3 separate regions of the Homo sapiens genome follow, and all the other regions are linked to region 2. Evidence: promoter capture Hi-C in human tissues and cell types (Jung and others, 2019). All regions are on one chromosome and are shown on one strand. Each heading gives the region's core, a stretch centred on a gene start or on the middle of the fragment in contact. The rest is flanking DNA. Distances are from core to core; before and after follow the strand shown.

Region 1 (4,837 bases), core at 1,217-3,716, 1.0 Mb after region 2:
TTTATTTGTCTCCCCTAATACCTTACTTGCAAAACACCATAATACAATGGTTGTCTGAAAAGCTCTATTACTATGTTTATTTGTAGGAGCGTATGATTTCTCAATACGGCAGCCTATTAGTAGCATAGTTTTTTGTTATTTAGTTTTAAATTATTAGTATTCTAGAAAGTGGGGAAAATGCCTCATAGTAGCCAGGTTTTTATAGGGCAGATCTTTAACATTTTTCGTTATGAGAAGGAGAATCACATATTTTGTAATGGGATTATCGCATGCTTATGAGTTTTCTTCATGGAGTCTCTTTGGAGAGAGCTAAAGAGAAAAACTAATTTTAGCTTAATGAAATCACTGGGAAATCTGCTTCTGGGTATAAAAGGAATCCTTATATTTTCAAAGTTGGGTAAGAAGCAGAAAGGAAAAAAACTGTCAGGAGCTATAGCTGTAACTGGAGTATTAGAAATTTATACTGATTATATTTATCTAAAGAGAAGCATTATAGTATTTTAAAAATCATCTTGAAGATTCATCTCTTTTCTGTTGCTTTAAAATAATATTTGGCACCATTCTAAAAAGTAATGATAGGTAATAGATTGCTATTTTATTTTGTGTTGCTCATAAAATATCTTCCTGTGCGATAGTTGCCAGACATAAGTATCTGGTTATCAATAAATTAGGCTGGTTTTGTGAATGTATTCTTGGAAATCTTTGAATTTTCTGGTTGCTGATTTACAGGGGTGTGCCGCAACACACCTAGCTCAAAAGTGGTGTCCTTGGTTTAGTGTGTGTCTCAGAAATAGACTTAAGTCAAAAATTGTCACCATTCTGTAATGTAATGGAAGAAAAAAAGTAAAGAATTAATGCTTGGAAAGTGCAGGCTTCCAATTGTTTTACTTTAAGATAAAAATAGAATAAACGTACCACCTGAAAGTTGTTTCATACTGAAGTTCTGTATTTAGTCTTAGCAGGCTTGGCATTGGAAAAACTCAATTTTGTTCTTAGATCTGGACATAAGTCTTGGCTCAATCATTTATACATTCCACGACCTTGGATAAGCCATTCCTCCAAATAAATTTCTACAAAATGGGAAGAATACCTACTTTATAGAATTGTGAAAATATAGTTGGGTAATATATATTAATGCATAGCTTGGATTTTTTCTTAATCCCAATCTAATAGCAATCCCTGGAACTTCTAGTCACCAATATATCTCAAATCCATTTATTTTTCTCCATCTTTACTGTCTTCACCCTAATCAAGCCCCTTCTTTCTTGATACAGTAGCTTTCATGGTAGCTTCCTTCCTGCCTCTTTTGCTTTCTTTTCTCTTCTTGTCTTCATTCTCCACCCAGCAGCCAACATTTTTTTTTAAGTGAATAACAGATTCTGTCATAAAGCACTTAAAACTTTCTGTTGTATTTAAAGTAAGTGCAGGAGGGCAGCTTCCTTCTCTCCCCAGGGCTATCAAGCCACTGGACTCTGCCTTCCTTTCTAGCTTCAGGGTTTCTGCTGTCTTCTCTCTCTCCCAATATTCCAGCCTTACAGCCTCCTTTCTGCTCTTGAACACATCTAGTTCACTCCCTTCTAATGGTCTTTACTCTTATATCTTTCTGCCTGAAATGTTCTTCTTCAGGTTTAAAATATGACTTTGAAAGTATTAAAAATATACAAAAAGAATTAGGGCTGATGTCTTTACATAAGACTAATTAGGAAATATATCACTTGTTTTGGTAGTATTTTTCAGGTATATTTTCTTCATTTTATACATTCACTTTCTAGTTTTTCAGTCACTTGTGTAACATCTAACTAGATAATATTTTTCCTATCACATTAGACACCTATGTTATACCTGACTGAACCTGTACCTCTACTGTCTGACACCATCACCAATGTTCTGATCTGAGCCTAAAAATGACTAACGAATTGCCCTTTCAACACATTTCTTCCTTTAATAACCCAGAAGCAGTCTATTATCTGTTAATTTAAACTGAAAAATAAAAATTTCTGACTTCTGATTATCCCAGGAATATATTGTTCCTTCGTTTATATTATATTTGTGTGGCTCCAATTTTAAAATGTGCCTCTGAGGTCTTGTTTACCCTCTTACAGCATCTTAATCATCACTGCTTTAAACGAAAGAGTGAGAGTTTGAACCCATAATCACATGATGGCATTGCCAGCCCATGGGACTATCCCTCATGGACCTTCTAAGTTAAATGAACCAGTGCCATGTTTGAATTCCAGGTACAGATGCTCCATCATTTTGCAGTTAACATAGAGCAGTTCCAGAGAAGGCCCAGGCCCCTCTGCCCTCAACTTCCTTACCTGTCATCTCTCTGTCCCCAACTTTCTTACTATATAGGGGAGAGAAAAAAAACTTTTCTGTCTACCCTCTAATTGACTGCCTAGGGCCTGCAAATTAAATTGACAAAAAACAGATTAGCAGGAGAAAAGCCATACAAATTTTACTTGATTTAACATTTTAGTTTTTACGTGCCCTTACAGAAAAGGCATGGAGACTCAGAGGAGCAGTTAGACCCTGCAGCTTATACACCATTTTAACAAAGGGTGATACATTTGTGGAGAAGTCACAAGAGGAAGCAAAAGGGATTTGGGCTTCCAGGGGCACAGATTATAAGAATGTAAATATGAGGAGAAACTAATGGAAGATAAGGGCGATTTTAGTAAGATTTGTTTGTGCAGACCCATCTCAGTGCCAACATTCTGTGTCCGGTGATACCTGGATGATCTGTTCCAGGTATGGGAGACGGGAGGGGAACACCTTCACAAAGAGAAGTTTATGTCATACTTTTAGGCAGATGGGGGAGGGTAAAGAGCTCTTTCTGAATTTGCTGCGTTTGAATTACCTTTAGCTCAAAATAGTCCTTAAACTAAAGTAGCATATTGGGGGAGAGACCCTTCATCTGCTCTGTTTCCCACAGCCCTCAGCACTGAGCAGGTATCAGGGCCCACCCTGCAGAAGCAGGGCTTAGGGTACCTGGTGTGCAGGACCACTGCTGGGCTCATCCGTAAAACCCTGCCCTAGATTCGTACCTTGAACCCCATTGCCCATGTGTGCATCTCACACCCCAGACTACCTCAGGAAAGGGACAGGTAGAGAGACATGCTAGAAATTGAGTGTCATTTCCTCTGTGTATATTTGAAGGTCACGCTAGCTCTGAAAAGATTTGGAAAGTAAATCAGGGACTTTGAAATCAAACCTCCAAGTTAAATGACCTTGGGCAAGTTAATTGGCATCTCTAAACCCCAGTTTCCTTATCTTTACAATAATTATATGTCAACCTCTTAGTATTATTATTAGAATTTAGGGAGAATCCTAGTAAATGTTCAGTTCATACACTTGTTTGTGTGATTCCCTTTTAGAGGGAATACCCAGTCTAGCTCAGACTCACCTTCCCTGATAAGCTTATCACCCACACATTAGGTGCTTTGCTGCCTAATTCTTTCCTGCATTCTTTTTTGACAACAAAGTATTACTGGAGAAAAATGCAGCATTTATAATTTAAACTAATTATAAACATGTAATTTGTAGCCCATAGTATGTTTGTGCTGTTCCACTTTAATTACGCCCATCAGTTCTTCTCTCTGCTTTCCTGGCACGCCCCTGGAGTATGCATCACACACGTGAATTACCTGATCTGCACAGACTCCTAGGGGATGGGTGTGCCTCCTATTTTGCAGTGGCGGGGAGGGTGCTGTCAGAAACCACGTGCCTTGTGTTTCCTTCTGGAATCAGCTATCATTATGACTCTCTTCTTTCCTTTCCTCTATTCATGCTGGAGAAAGCTAGCCTTTTCCCCTAGGGAAGCAGGTGGTGCTCAATCTTTAGTGAGCATGAGCATTGCCTTGGGAGTTGATCACAGATTTGGAGTGGGTTCCAGGAAATGACATGGTCAACAAGCAACCCCAAATGATTCTGATGGTCCTGGGATCACACTGAGAAATCTGCTCTGCTTTTGTATTGCTTACTTCTCCTCAGACTTTACTCCCACTGTTTTCTTCTCTGTCTCTTTATCTTTAATCTGACATCCTTCTTGGGATTCTTCTCTATATCTTTGGACTAGGTTTTTTATTCTCAAAACAAACAAACAAAATAATTGTTTTTTCCATTGACATGGAGAAAAATGATTGTGGTCCTCTATTCTCCATTATCCACCACACTGTCACCCTCAGGTGAGGGCCGAATAAACATTCTTCTTTCTGCCCTTCTGCACTTGCAGGGGTTTGACTAGAGAGACAGAGAAATTGACAGTATCCTCTACTGACAGCACCTCCTGTCAGGCATTTTTTTAAAGTGGATGTTTTTACTGGAACAAAACATTTTAATGAAAACATTGACTTGGAACATAACAAGGCTTTTAAATAGAGACTTGGAATCCTTTTTGTATTCACTTAAATCTGTTTTATTTTTCTCTCTATGACGCTATATAAAATCTCATCAATATACAAAATCATTCTGAGCCTCAGATTTTCTCATTTTCTCTGGATGAGAGCTTTGATTAGCTTTTTACAAGTTCTTCATTAGTAATTGGCTTGCTTTTTTGTTTTGTTTTTGGCTGTTGACTCTAATAAGTTTATGTTCTATCAAAGAATTATTTGAGGATGGTCTGAAAGATGCTACTCTTGTTGTGTTAGGGAATATTACAATTTAAGACTCTTTATAAAACGCAACAAGTGCTATTAGGACTAAATGTTCATTTCTTCTTCTTGAGGCTGGTGGCTGGGGTGGGTTGTTCAGTCTTATCATCATGCCTGACCTAGTTGTGCAGCCGTGACTGTTTAATTAATAGACATTTACATAAGCTCCTGATTTTCCCCCAGCA
Region 2 (4,282 bases), core at 1,588-4,087:
TCACTTTGGGATGGAGACTTAAAATGTAGTAAAATTGGGCTCTATATGTCAAAAGATGGAACACAGGGCACAAAGACGCTTGGTGTGCAATCTCTGTAAACCGGCCAGAACCGGCTGTGGTCTGTGGTCAGTTATGAGGATGGAGTGCTTTGTAAGGCTGAACACTTGTCAGGGGGAAACTGCGTTGAGGGAAGGGGGGGTTCGCCACGTCAGGTTGTCTGTTGAAGTTGAGGAAGAAATCTTCCAGACATAGTTTTTCAGTAACTGGTTTTAGTTTAATTTTAGGAAAGAAAGTCTTGAGGCAGTTATCGAGGTGGGAGAGCGTTGGGTGTGACTGACCTCTTGCCTTGCCAAAGCTGTAGAATCTGGTTTTTAATGTTTCCTGGGGTCTCTTTTTACCACAATGAGTCTGTTTTGTTTTGCTTGGGGGCCTAGGGGCTTTATTTTTATTTTACATCTTCTTCATAGCAGTGAACTCCTTCAGATATATTATTTACTTCTAAATATTACTTCTAAAGTTCAGGGAGAAAAACAGTTTAGAAGAGGCCCTAAAATTCAAAGAATTTGGGGAAAGCTTTGAAATGATACGAAGGATCAACTAATCACACTTTCTTTGCAGTGCTTAGATTCTTCCTGTGACATCCCCAGCCTATATTTGATACCTCCAGGCACAGAGAACTCACTACTACCTGGAACAGCTCAGTCCATTGCACAGCAGCTCAACGCTCCTGAATGGGTGGTGGAGAGAGGAGAAGCCGCCAGGGTAGAGTCCTGGCCTAATAGTCACCAGGCTCCACCTAGGAGGGGCTTCTGAAATAAGACTCCTGTCTACCCCTAAAATAACTGCAGTGGTTATATGGATTACTATATATGAAAATACTTTAACTTCTATGAAGTTGTGGCAACATTTAGAGCTGATGGAATTAAGTTACAGTTGCTGGACACAAGAATAGACTAAGGAAAGGGGTCCCTCCTGCCCAATTCTGAAATGAGCAATCCAGGCTGGTGCGACAGAGGAACCCAGGTTCCTTTCATCCTATTACTTGCTCATCCCACAAGGCGTCATCCTTGCCTTCGAGGTCAAATCTGGGGCCTGCTCTAGCCACACTCCTGCTGGACTCAGGAACAGAAAAGAGAATAAGTCCAGGACATTTTCCTTTAAAGCAAATGATATGGCAGTCGCACACTTCAATTCTGTTCCTGCCCTTATGGCAGAAGCCAGCCACAGGGCAGCCTGGTGTGGCTAGAGCCCCAGAGCTTCAAAAGGAGTTGGTAACGATGAGAAGGGAATAGATGCCATGTGACAGGGATGGCATTTGAAAGATTTCCAGAAAGCCAGAATTTCTACTGTGAGTCCCTTGTAGAGATTTCATCCCCATCACACCACCTTTATAATAAGCTTGAAGAGGACCAGTCCCCCAAAAGAAGGGTGGTACCCTCTTTTCTCAACAATGACCCAATTTTTCTTCTGACCTTACTAACATAAACATTTACTCTATAAAATATAAGGTGTTGAGGTCGGGTGAGTGGAGGGGGCCCTAAATGTTGATTAGGCAATTGGGGAGGAAAAGGAGGTTTTTGCTATAACTGCCATTCTTTAAATCTACAATTCCATGCTCTTTAAAAGCCTTATAATTTTCTGGATCTGGGAGCTGGGCTATTTCAGGGTCAATGGATTTATTTCAGTTGGTGCCTGAACTGACTTGAAACAAGTGTGTGTGGAAAAGAGCTATTTTGAGAAGGAATAAACCGAGACTGCCCTGATGATAGAATATGCAAGCTGGTGGGTCTTGACTCCTTAAAGGATTATGAAATTAATTTGATTGGTCCCAATCTTTATATAACCACCCCAATCAGGAAACTTCCCATCCCGCCAAAAGGCCCCCTCACGTGCTCTCCCTGTCAGTACCCCATGCAAAGGTAAAATAGATGATATTTTTAAACATGGGTCGTGTTTAAAAGAAATGGAAACTCCTTCAGAGAATGAAGGAGAACCACACTGGGTAGAAGGTTATTCCTGGGGCTCCACCCCTTGCTCCATCAAGTCCTCTGAGCATGAGCTGGGCTCTGAGAAGGAAGAGACAGGAACCAATTGGTCATGTCCACGTGGCCTCAGAAGCTGAGTACGTGACGGTCACCAGATGCCTAGGCAGGCTCCCTTGAAATGGCAGGGCTGCTGTCCAAAATCCTGCTGGGTCATTGCTATTTACAGGCAGCCTTCCCGGCGTGCGGTGGATATCCCAAGCGGGGCTATTTTTAAGCAGGGCTATGGCCTGCCGTGGGTTAAGCTGGTGTGGACAGAAAGCGAGATGATCTAGCCATCTACTGCAGGGGGCCTGATCTTGAACAGAAACCTGACTGTAATTGTCCCTGGATCCAGGTCCCAGACAAAGACGCTGGAAGGAGGTCCCTCCAGCCCCTGGCTCAGGGCCCGGTCAGCTGCTGGAGCCAGGCAGCTTGAGACATCCTCCTCTCCGACCTTGGCTTGAGGGGTTCATCCTCCAGAGCTCACCAGGGCCCCAAGGCTGGTACACCTGAGAGAAGAGAGAAACAAATCCCCCAACAGATGTGCAATTTCACCTGCTGGCCCTTCCATTCTGAGATCCAGAGCCCTGGCAAAGGAGCCTCCAGGACCAGGCCTGGGAAGCAAGACTGGCTCCGCCTTTTACGTTTCAGAGAAAGGGCAGGTGCTATAAAGGGCCCAGCGCCCACGGGCCTGCCTTCAAGGGTACAGCTGTGGGGGCCGGTGCGCCCGGAGGTCTACGCTGGGATTGGTGAGGTCCTCTGGCCCCGCCCCGCCAGGGAGGATTTCCAGGCCGGCCCGACCAGCTCGCCCTGCATACACTTCTTGGCTGTGTGCGCTCAGCAGGACGTGGGAGGCTCCGGCTTCAAGGTCGGTGAGTCCGTGAAACTCTGCTTTATTCCTCCAAAGAGGGGTCATGGCTAGAGCCAGTGTGAAGGGCCTTGGAGGAGTGGATGCCGGGCTGTAGACGGGGACCCCGTTAGGACGCTGACTGCGAGGAGGCAATGGTGACTCGCTAAAGCCAGCAGAGCTCCCGCCCTTGGCCGAAGCGACCCCTCCTCCCTGCACACAGGTGGGGGCAGCTCAGCACCAGGAGCAGAACAAATCAGCACGCTGCCTGCAGGGCCTCTTTTTGGTAGTGAATCAGGAATTTTTCTCGATGGAAAAAAAAATCTAAAGGCTGTATTTTGACGCTAAGTTTGGGACAACTTTAAACTTAAAGTGTCTTTCCCTTGTAATTCACAGAGTCTAATCCACTCATTTCTGGGAATGTTTTTCCCCAGCAGTCTCAGTCTCAAAAGACATGTAAATCAGTGACTTGGGATGAACTAACTAGAAAATTAAAATTTTGAGAAGCTATTTGCTCATAAGCCCAATAGCCAGGCCCAGTTTAAACGGGCAAATAGTATTGCTAGAGATTCAGTTTTGCCGTCACTAATACTAACACATTGATAATGAGACAAGTAACCGTCTCCCCTCCCCACCATCCTTACCTTTCCCACCGGAGGTTAATTAAAAAAAAAAAAAAAAAAAAAAAAACCTATGGAATTGGCCCCACGTGTTTCACCTGGGCAGAGGCCTGTTCTTCACTAGCTTGCTTGCTTGGTTGGTTGTCCCGGGGTTAAAATCAGTCCTGTTCTTGCCCCTAGAGTGGTCTGCCTTCAAATGCTCTCCTCCGAATGTGAGGAAGAGTGACATTTGACAAACAGACCAAAACCTTTAGGTCTCCTCAGTGCTGCCCTTTAGACCTTCCAGAAAGTGTTGCCAGGCTCGTGACCCCTCACAGTGTCAGCTGAGTCAAGTGAGGGGCAGTTAGTGGCCCTCAGGACAAGGTTACGCTAGGTACACCAGTGTGCTGTTTCCAGAAGGGCTGCTTTTCCTGTCTACGGCTCTCACATTTTCTCTGTTCTGAACTCGTGTCCTTGGTCTGTTCTCTCTGTCCTCTCATAGAGGCGAGCATGGCCACAGCATGTGGCCAGAGACTTCCTGACAGGCAGGCTCTTCCGGGAGGCTCTTGGCCTTGTTTGGCGGTCTGAGCACTTCACTTCCTCTGCATTGATAGGCACCTTTTCCAAAGACCCCAGACTTTGGAGTTAATCACGCCTGTGGGTTAAGGCACTGTCACAGCAAAGCACAGGAGTGCCACATGCACCCCATGGACTCTGCCAGCCTCATGACCAAATCATATCATTAGGAAATGGGCCATAGGCAGGTCAGTTTTCCTAAGGAAACTGTGGGTTGGGTCGGGGGGAGTACCAT
Region 3 (4,439 bases), core at 1,320-3,819, 1.0 Mb after region 2:
TGCACAGATTACCCACTACATAGAAACCTCCTAGGGCTCCCCATTGCTTGCCAAATGATGTCCACGTCCCTAACTTGGGTATGGTCTGACCTATATCTTATATCCAATTACTACCTTATAAAAGAAACAGAGTTACATTTCAGGCTTTTAACTTATAAAAACAGCCCTGTAGGCTTGGGAGAGACAGAAGGAGAGAAATGAGGAAAAAGAAAAACAAAAACTCAGAGACGGAAAGAGAGAGAGAGACAAACAGAAGTAGAACAATTTAAATAGTGCAGGCCATCTCCTCCCATCCCTGGTTCTACTCGTGGAACATGTGCCCACTGGCACTGGATACATGTAGGCTTGAAACAACATGTTGACAAAATTTGTGTAAAGAAATATGCAAATGATTTTGAGTCTCTTACCATTGACAAAGAGGTGAATAAAATGAATTGTTTAGGTTGTCAAACTACTGAGCTTTGTGAACATCCTTGAAGAAAAACTGAAGAATAATGATAGGCCAAAGAGAAACACTGGCCAACAGAGAGGGAACTGATAAAATGCAACTACAGTTTATATTGTGTAAACAAAAATGGGTGCCCTGCTATACTCGACCATACTGCTTTATCAATGAATAGTCCTTTCTCACCAACTTCTTCTGATGTTTGGATTATAAATTGTTTTTAAAAATAGAAAATAAACCTGTATATTAATTCAATAACTTGGAATTTGAGACAAACCTTTATTTTAAAGGAGTAAACCAGATAAATTATTTTAGCCTTTTCAAAGTAACTCACACTGATCCTGGACCAATTCTGATTCTTACAGGAACATCCAATACTTGGGCAACCCTTTTTTGTACTTCATCCCTGCAAGACGAATGAATTCATGACTCCTGTATTAAAGAATTCTCAGAAAATCAATAAGTAAGAAACACCATCAAGATACATTGGCTTCTACTCTGATTTTAAAAGTGTAAATCTTTTTATGTGACTCTAAATGCTAGGCTAAAAAAGAAATATTAATAATAATAATGGCTAACACAATGATTTTTAGGATATGCTAGATGCTGTTCTAAGAGTTTTAGATACAGTAAGACATTGGATTTTTGCAGCATTCCTATGTGCTAAGTACTATTATTTTGCCCAATTTACAGAGGAGGAAGTTACAGAACAGAGGAGTTAAGCCACTCAAACAAGGTCACACAGCTAGTTAAGTGGTGGGATTTGAATCTAAGCATTTTGGCCTCAGAACCATGCTCTTAATCACTGCACTCTGCTACCTTAGTAAGTGCTGTAAACTGTAAGGGTAAAATTTGAATCATCAAGGGAAGTCAGGAGCCAGTACCTTACCTCATTCTTCAACTACCCTAATGAGGGATCCTTACAGGCTCTCTGGACCTTAAATTCTTGTCAAGCAATGGGGCTGGCATTCAGAAATGCTGAGATTCCAGGTGGTAGGTACAAATCTTTGAAGAAAGCCTCACTTTTGTTATTGTTGGTGACCAACTGATGTTCTACCATTCATCCAAAAACTACAATGGAAACGTTAGCATGGCCTGTATTTCACTTGTTTCCTAGGAATGTCAACTATATCACATCATGGCTGAGCATTGTAGGGCCAGTTGTTGGGCTGAATCTACCTCTGAGTTATGCCAAAGCAACGTCTCAGGATGAACGAAATGTCCCTTAACAAGGTAAAAGAAAAGCCTGGATTTAATGTTTTGCCGTTACAAAGATCAATGTCTCCATTGCATTTAGACTCATCCCACCAAATGCAAAATTTGCTTTCATCTTTAGTGGGCAAACCCTGACTTAATTTTTAGTTTTCCAATCAGTCCCCTACCAAGTTATTTAGGACAGGGATCCCCAAATCCCAGGCCATGGACCGGAACCAGGCCTCACAGCAGGAGGTGAGCGGCAGCTGGGTGGGCAAGCAAGCGAGCATTACCACCTGAGCTCTTCCTCCTATCAGATCAGCTGCAGCATTGGATCTGCATAGGAATGTGAACCCTATTGTGAACTGCGCATCTGAGGGACCTAGGTTGCGCGCTCCTTATGAGATTCTAACCAATGCCTGATGATCTGAGGTGGAACAGTTTCATCCTGAAACCATCTCCCATTCGGTCTGTGAAAATGGTTTTCCCTGAAACTGGTGCCTGGTGCCAAAAAGGTTGGGGGCCACCAATTCAGGAAATATTTTACTTTGCTGTAAGTAGCATGCACTCAGTGACAGGAATGGATAGTTTTATTTTAGTACTGATATTCTTAAATAAGTCTTTACTGCTCAGTTATTTTTCTTTTATTCTCTTGGCTTTTGTTTTATGTTCTTCAGATTCTTCTATTGAGTTTAGGAATTGCGGCACGAAGAATGCCAAGAGTTTACCTGGCCAGCCCTGGCTTTAATAGGACTGATACCATGGAATATTTCATCTCACCAAGATGTGACATGGATTATTTTTCCCTTGGACACAAATGTCTACAGCAACTGGTGTTTGATAGGCTGAATGTTTAGAAGAAACACTTCAAAGGGATACATCATGGCCAGGCATGGTGGCTCACACCTGTAATCCAAGCACTTTGGGAGGCCAAGGTGGGAGCATCACTTGATCCTGGGAGTTCGAGACCAGCCTGGGCAACATGGTGAAACCCTGTCGGTACAAAAAAATACAAAAATTTGCCTGTTTATGGTGGTGTGTTCCTGTAGTCCCAGCTCCCCAGGAGGCTGAGGTGGGAGGTTGGCTTTAACCCAGGAGGCAGAGGTTGCAGTGAGCTGAGACTGTGCCACTGCAGTCCAGCCTGGGTGACAGAGCCAGACACTGTCTCGGGGAAAAAAAAAAAAAAAAAAAGACACATCACTATAAATAGCAAAAAAACAAATCTAACTTATTAATACTAGGAATACCAACATTATTAGGGCACTTGCAGGTTATTCTTTTCTAGGCCAAGTACTTCACTTCCATTTGTCTGACATGGAGATTGAGGGAGAAATGTATTTGTGTGTTCATTTTAATGTAAGATATATAAAAATTAAATTACTGGATTTACCTGTCCCTGAAACTGGTGTTATAAACATGACCTATCTTAAGTGATTTTCCCACAATCAAACTCAGGAACAATAGATTATTTCTGTTTTACTCCAAAAGAGAGAGAGAGAGTGAGTGTGAGTGTGTGTGTGTGTGTGTGTGTATGTGTGGGTGTTTGTGTAGATAGTTGTAAAACAAAGAAAAAACACAATATTTTACTGTGAGATAATATGTTTTACCAGCAAAGTGTGGCATAGTAATTAGAAGTTTTCTAAAAAGCTATAGGAGATATTTAAACATTAAAATTTCTTTTTGACCTATAGTAATAAAACAATGGTCATTTTACCCCTCTGCTTCTCAACCCCACAGCTGCTCTGCTGTACTCTTTGAGGGCTCTTGAGCGAGTCTTCATGTCCCTGAGACTTATTTTCCTCATCTTTAATTTGAAACTAACAAGCTACCTCATAGGGTTGCTGTGAGAACCACATGAGATCATTAATGCATGATAAGATATTGTAAAGTATTATACGAATATTCATTAAATGCTCACCTTTCTTGTATATAATTGGTATTCACTAAGGCTGTAAATAAGTTTCATAGCCAGTTAAGTATTAAGATAAACCTAACCTGGAACAATTTTTTTTTTGGTTGCTTGTTTTGTTTTTTGCTTTCATTTGCTAGGAGCTGAAACGAAGATTAAAATGTCATTGGCTTTTTAGAGAGTCTAGATTAGTGTGTCTTTGAATGAGGGATATACTTAAAATCACCTGAGGATCGTTTACAGCTACAGATGCTGGGGCCACCTGACACAGTCTCTCTGGGGGTGATTCTGCTCTGGAGAACCTCTGGTCTGGATATACCTTTATTGTGACATTGATTTGTATTGTTTTGCTCTACTGACAGGCCTTTTCCAATCCATACAAGCTGAACTTGCTTCCTAATGTTTGTCTAGGCCTTACATGGATAGTAAGGAAGCTTAGGAGACATGTACACAAGGCAGCCCACTTGTAGGAAACTGCTTCAGGTGAGGACATCATTCACCAGTGGATCACCGAGCACCGTGACAGCACCCTCAGTCCACGTCTGCAGATTAAGAGCTGAACTCTCACAGAGAAAGTGGAAGTAGAGAAAGGGTTAATTCAAACTGCTAGAAAAGCTAAAAGTAAATTTTAAAATGCTGAGCTGCCCATATTCATGCTAGGATGAGAGCCGGCTTAAATGCTTGCTGGGCATTTTGGTATTTACCACTTAGCATGTTTTCAACTTCTGTGAGGGATTTTCCCCCCAATCTCCCTAATGTAAACACAGATTTCTCAGCAAGTCATTTCTCAAGCCATGTCATTTCTAGTGTAAAATAAATTATAATAATGTGTCATCTGAATGGTGTTCTTGTCTGCAAACATTAGTTATCCTTTGCTAACAGATTCTGAGA

The links. Contacts are between HindIII fragments. The study calls those that stand out against the background at their distance.
Region 1: a contact is called between a fragment that was not itself captured here and the fragment with the promoter of CKMT2 in region 2, in 1 of the 25 tissues and cell types used here (lymphoblastoid cells).
Region 3: a contact is called between a fragment that was not itself captured here and the fragment with the promoter of CKMT2 in region 2, in 1 of the 25 tissues and cell types used here (spleen).

What each region holds. Positions count from the first base shown.
Region 1 is chr5:82,231,409-82,236,245 of GRCh38, forward strand. The region is part of intron 5 of ATG10 (autophagy related 10); the gene reads left to right. Among named protein-coding and RNA genes, the nearest start is that of RPS23, 45 kb to the right of the region's middle. The HindIII fragment of the contact is 3,326 bases long and covers 804-4,129 here.
Region 2 is chr5:81,230,485-81,234,766 of GRCh38, forward strand. It overlaps CKMT2 (creatine kinase, mitochondrial 2), which reads left to right and starts at 2,838. Exons shown (of 10, transcript NM_001099735.2): 1 at 2,838-2,893. The HindIII fragment of the contact is 7,118 bases long and covers 987-4,282 here.
Region 3 is chr5:82,251,752-82,256,190 of GRCh38, forward strand. It overlaps ATG10 (autophagy related 10), which reads left to right. Exons shown (of 8, transcript NM_031482.5): 6 at 811-908; 7 at 1,563-1,678; 8 at 2,317-4,382. The coding sequence ends at 1,674. Among named protein-coding and RNA genes, the nearest start is that of RPS23, 24 kb to the right of the region's middle. The HindIII fragment of the contact is 4,949 bases long and covers 96-4,439 here.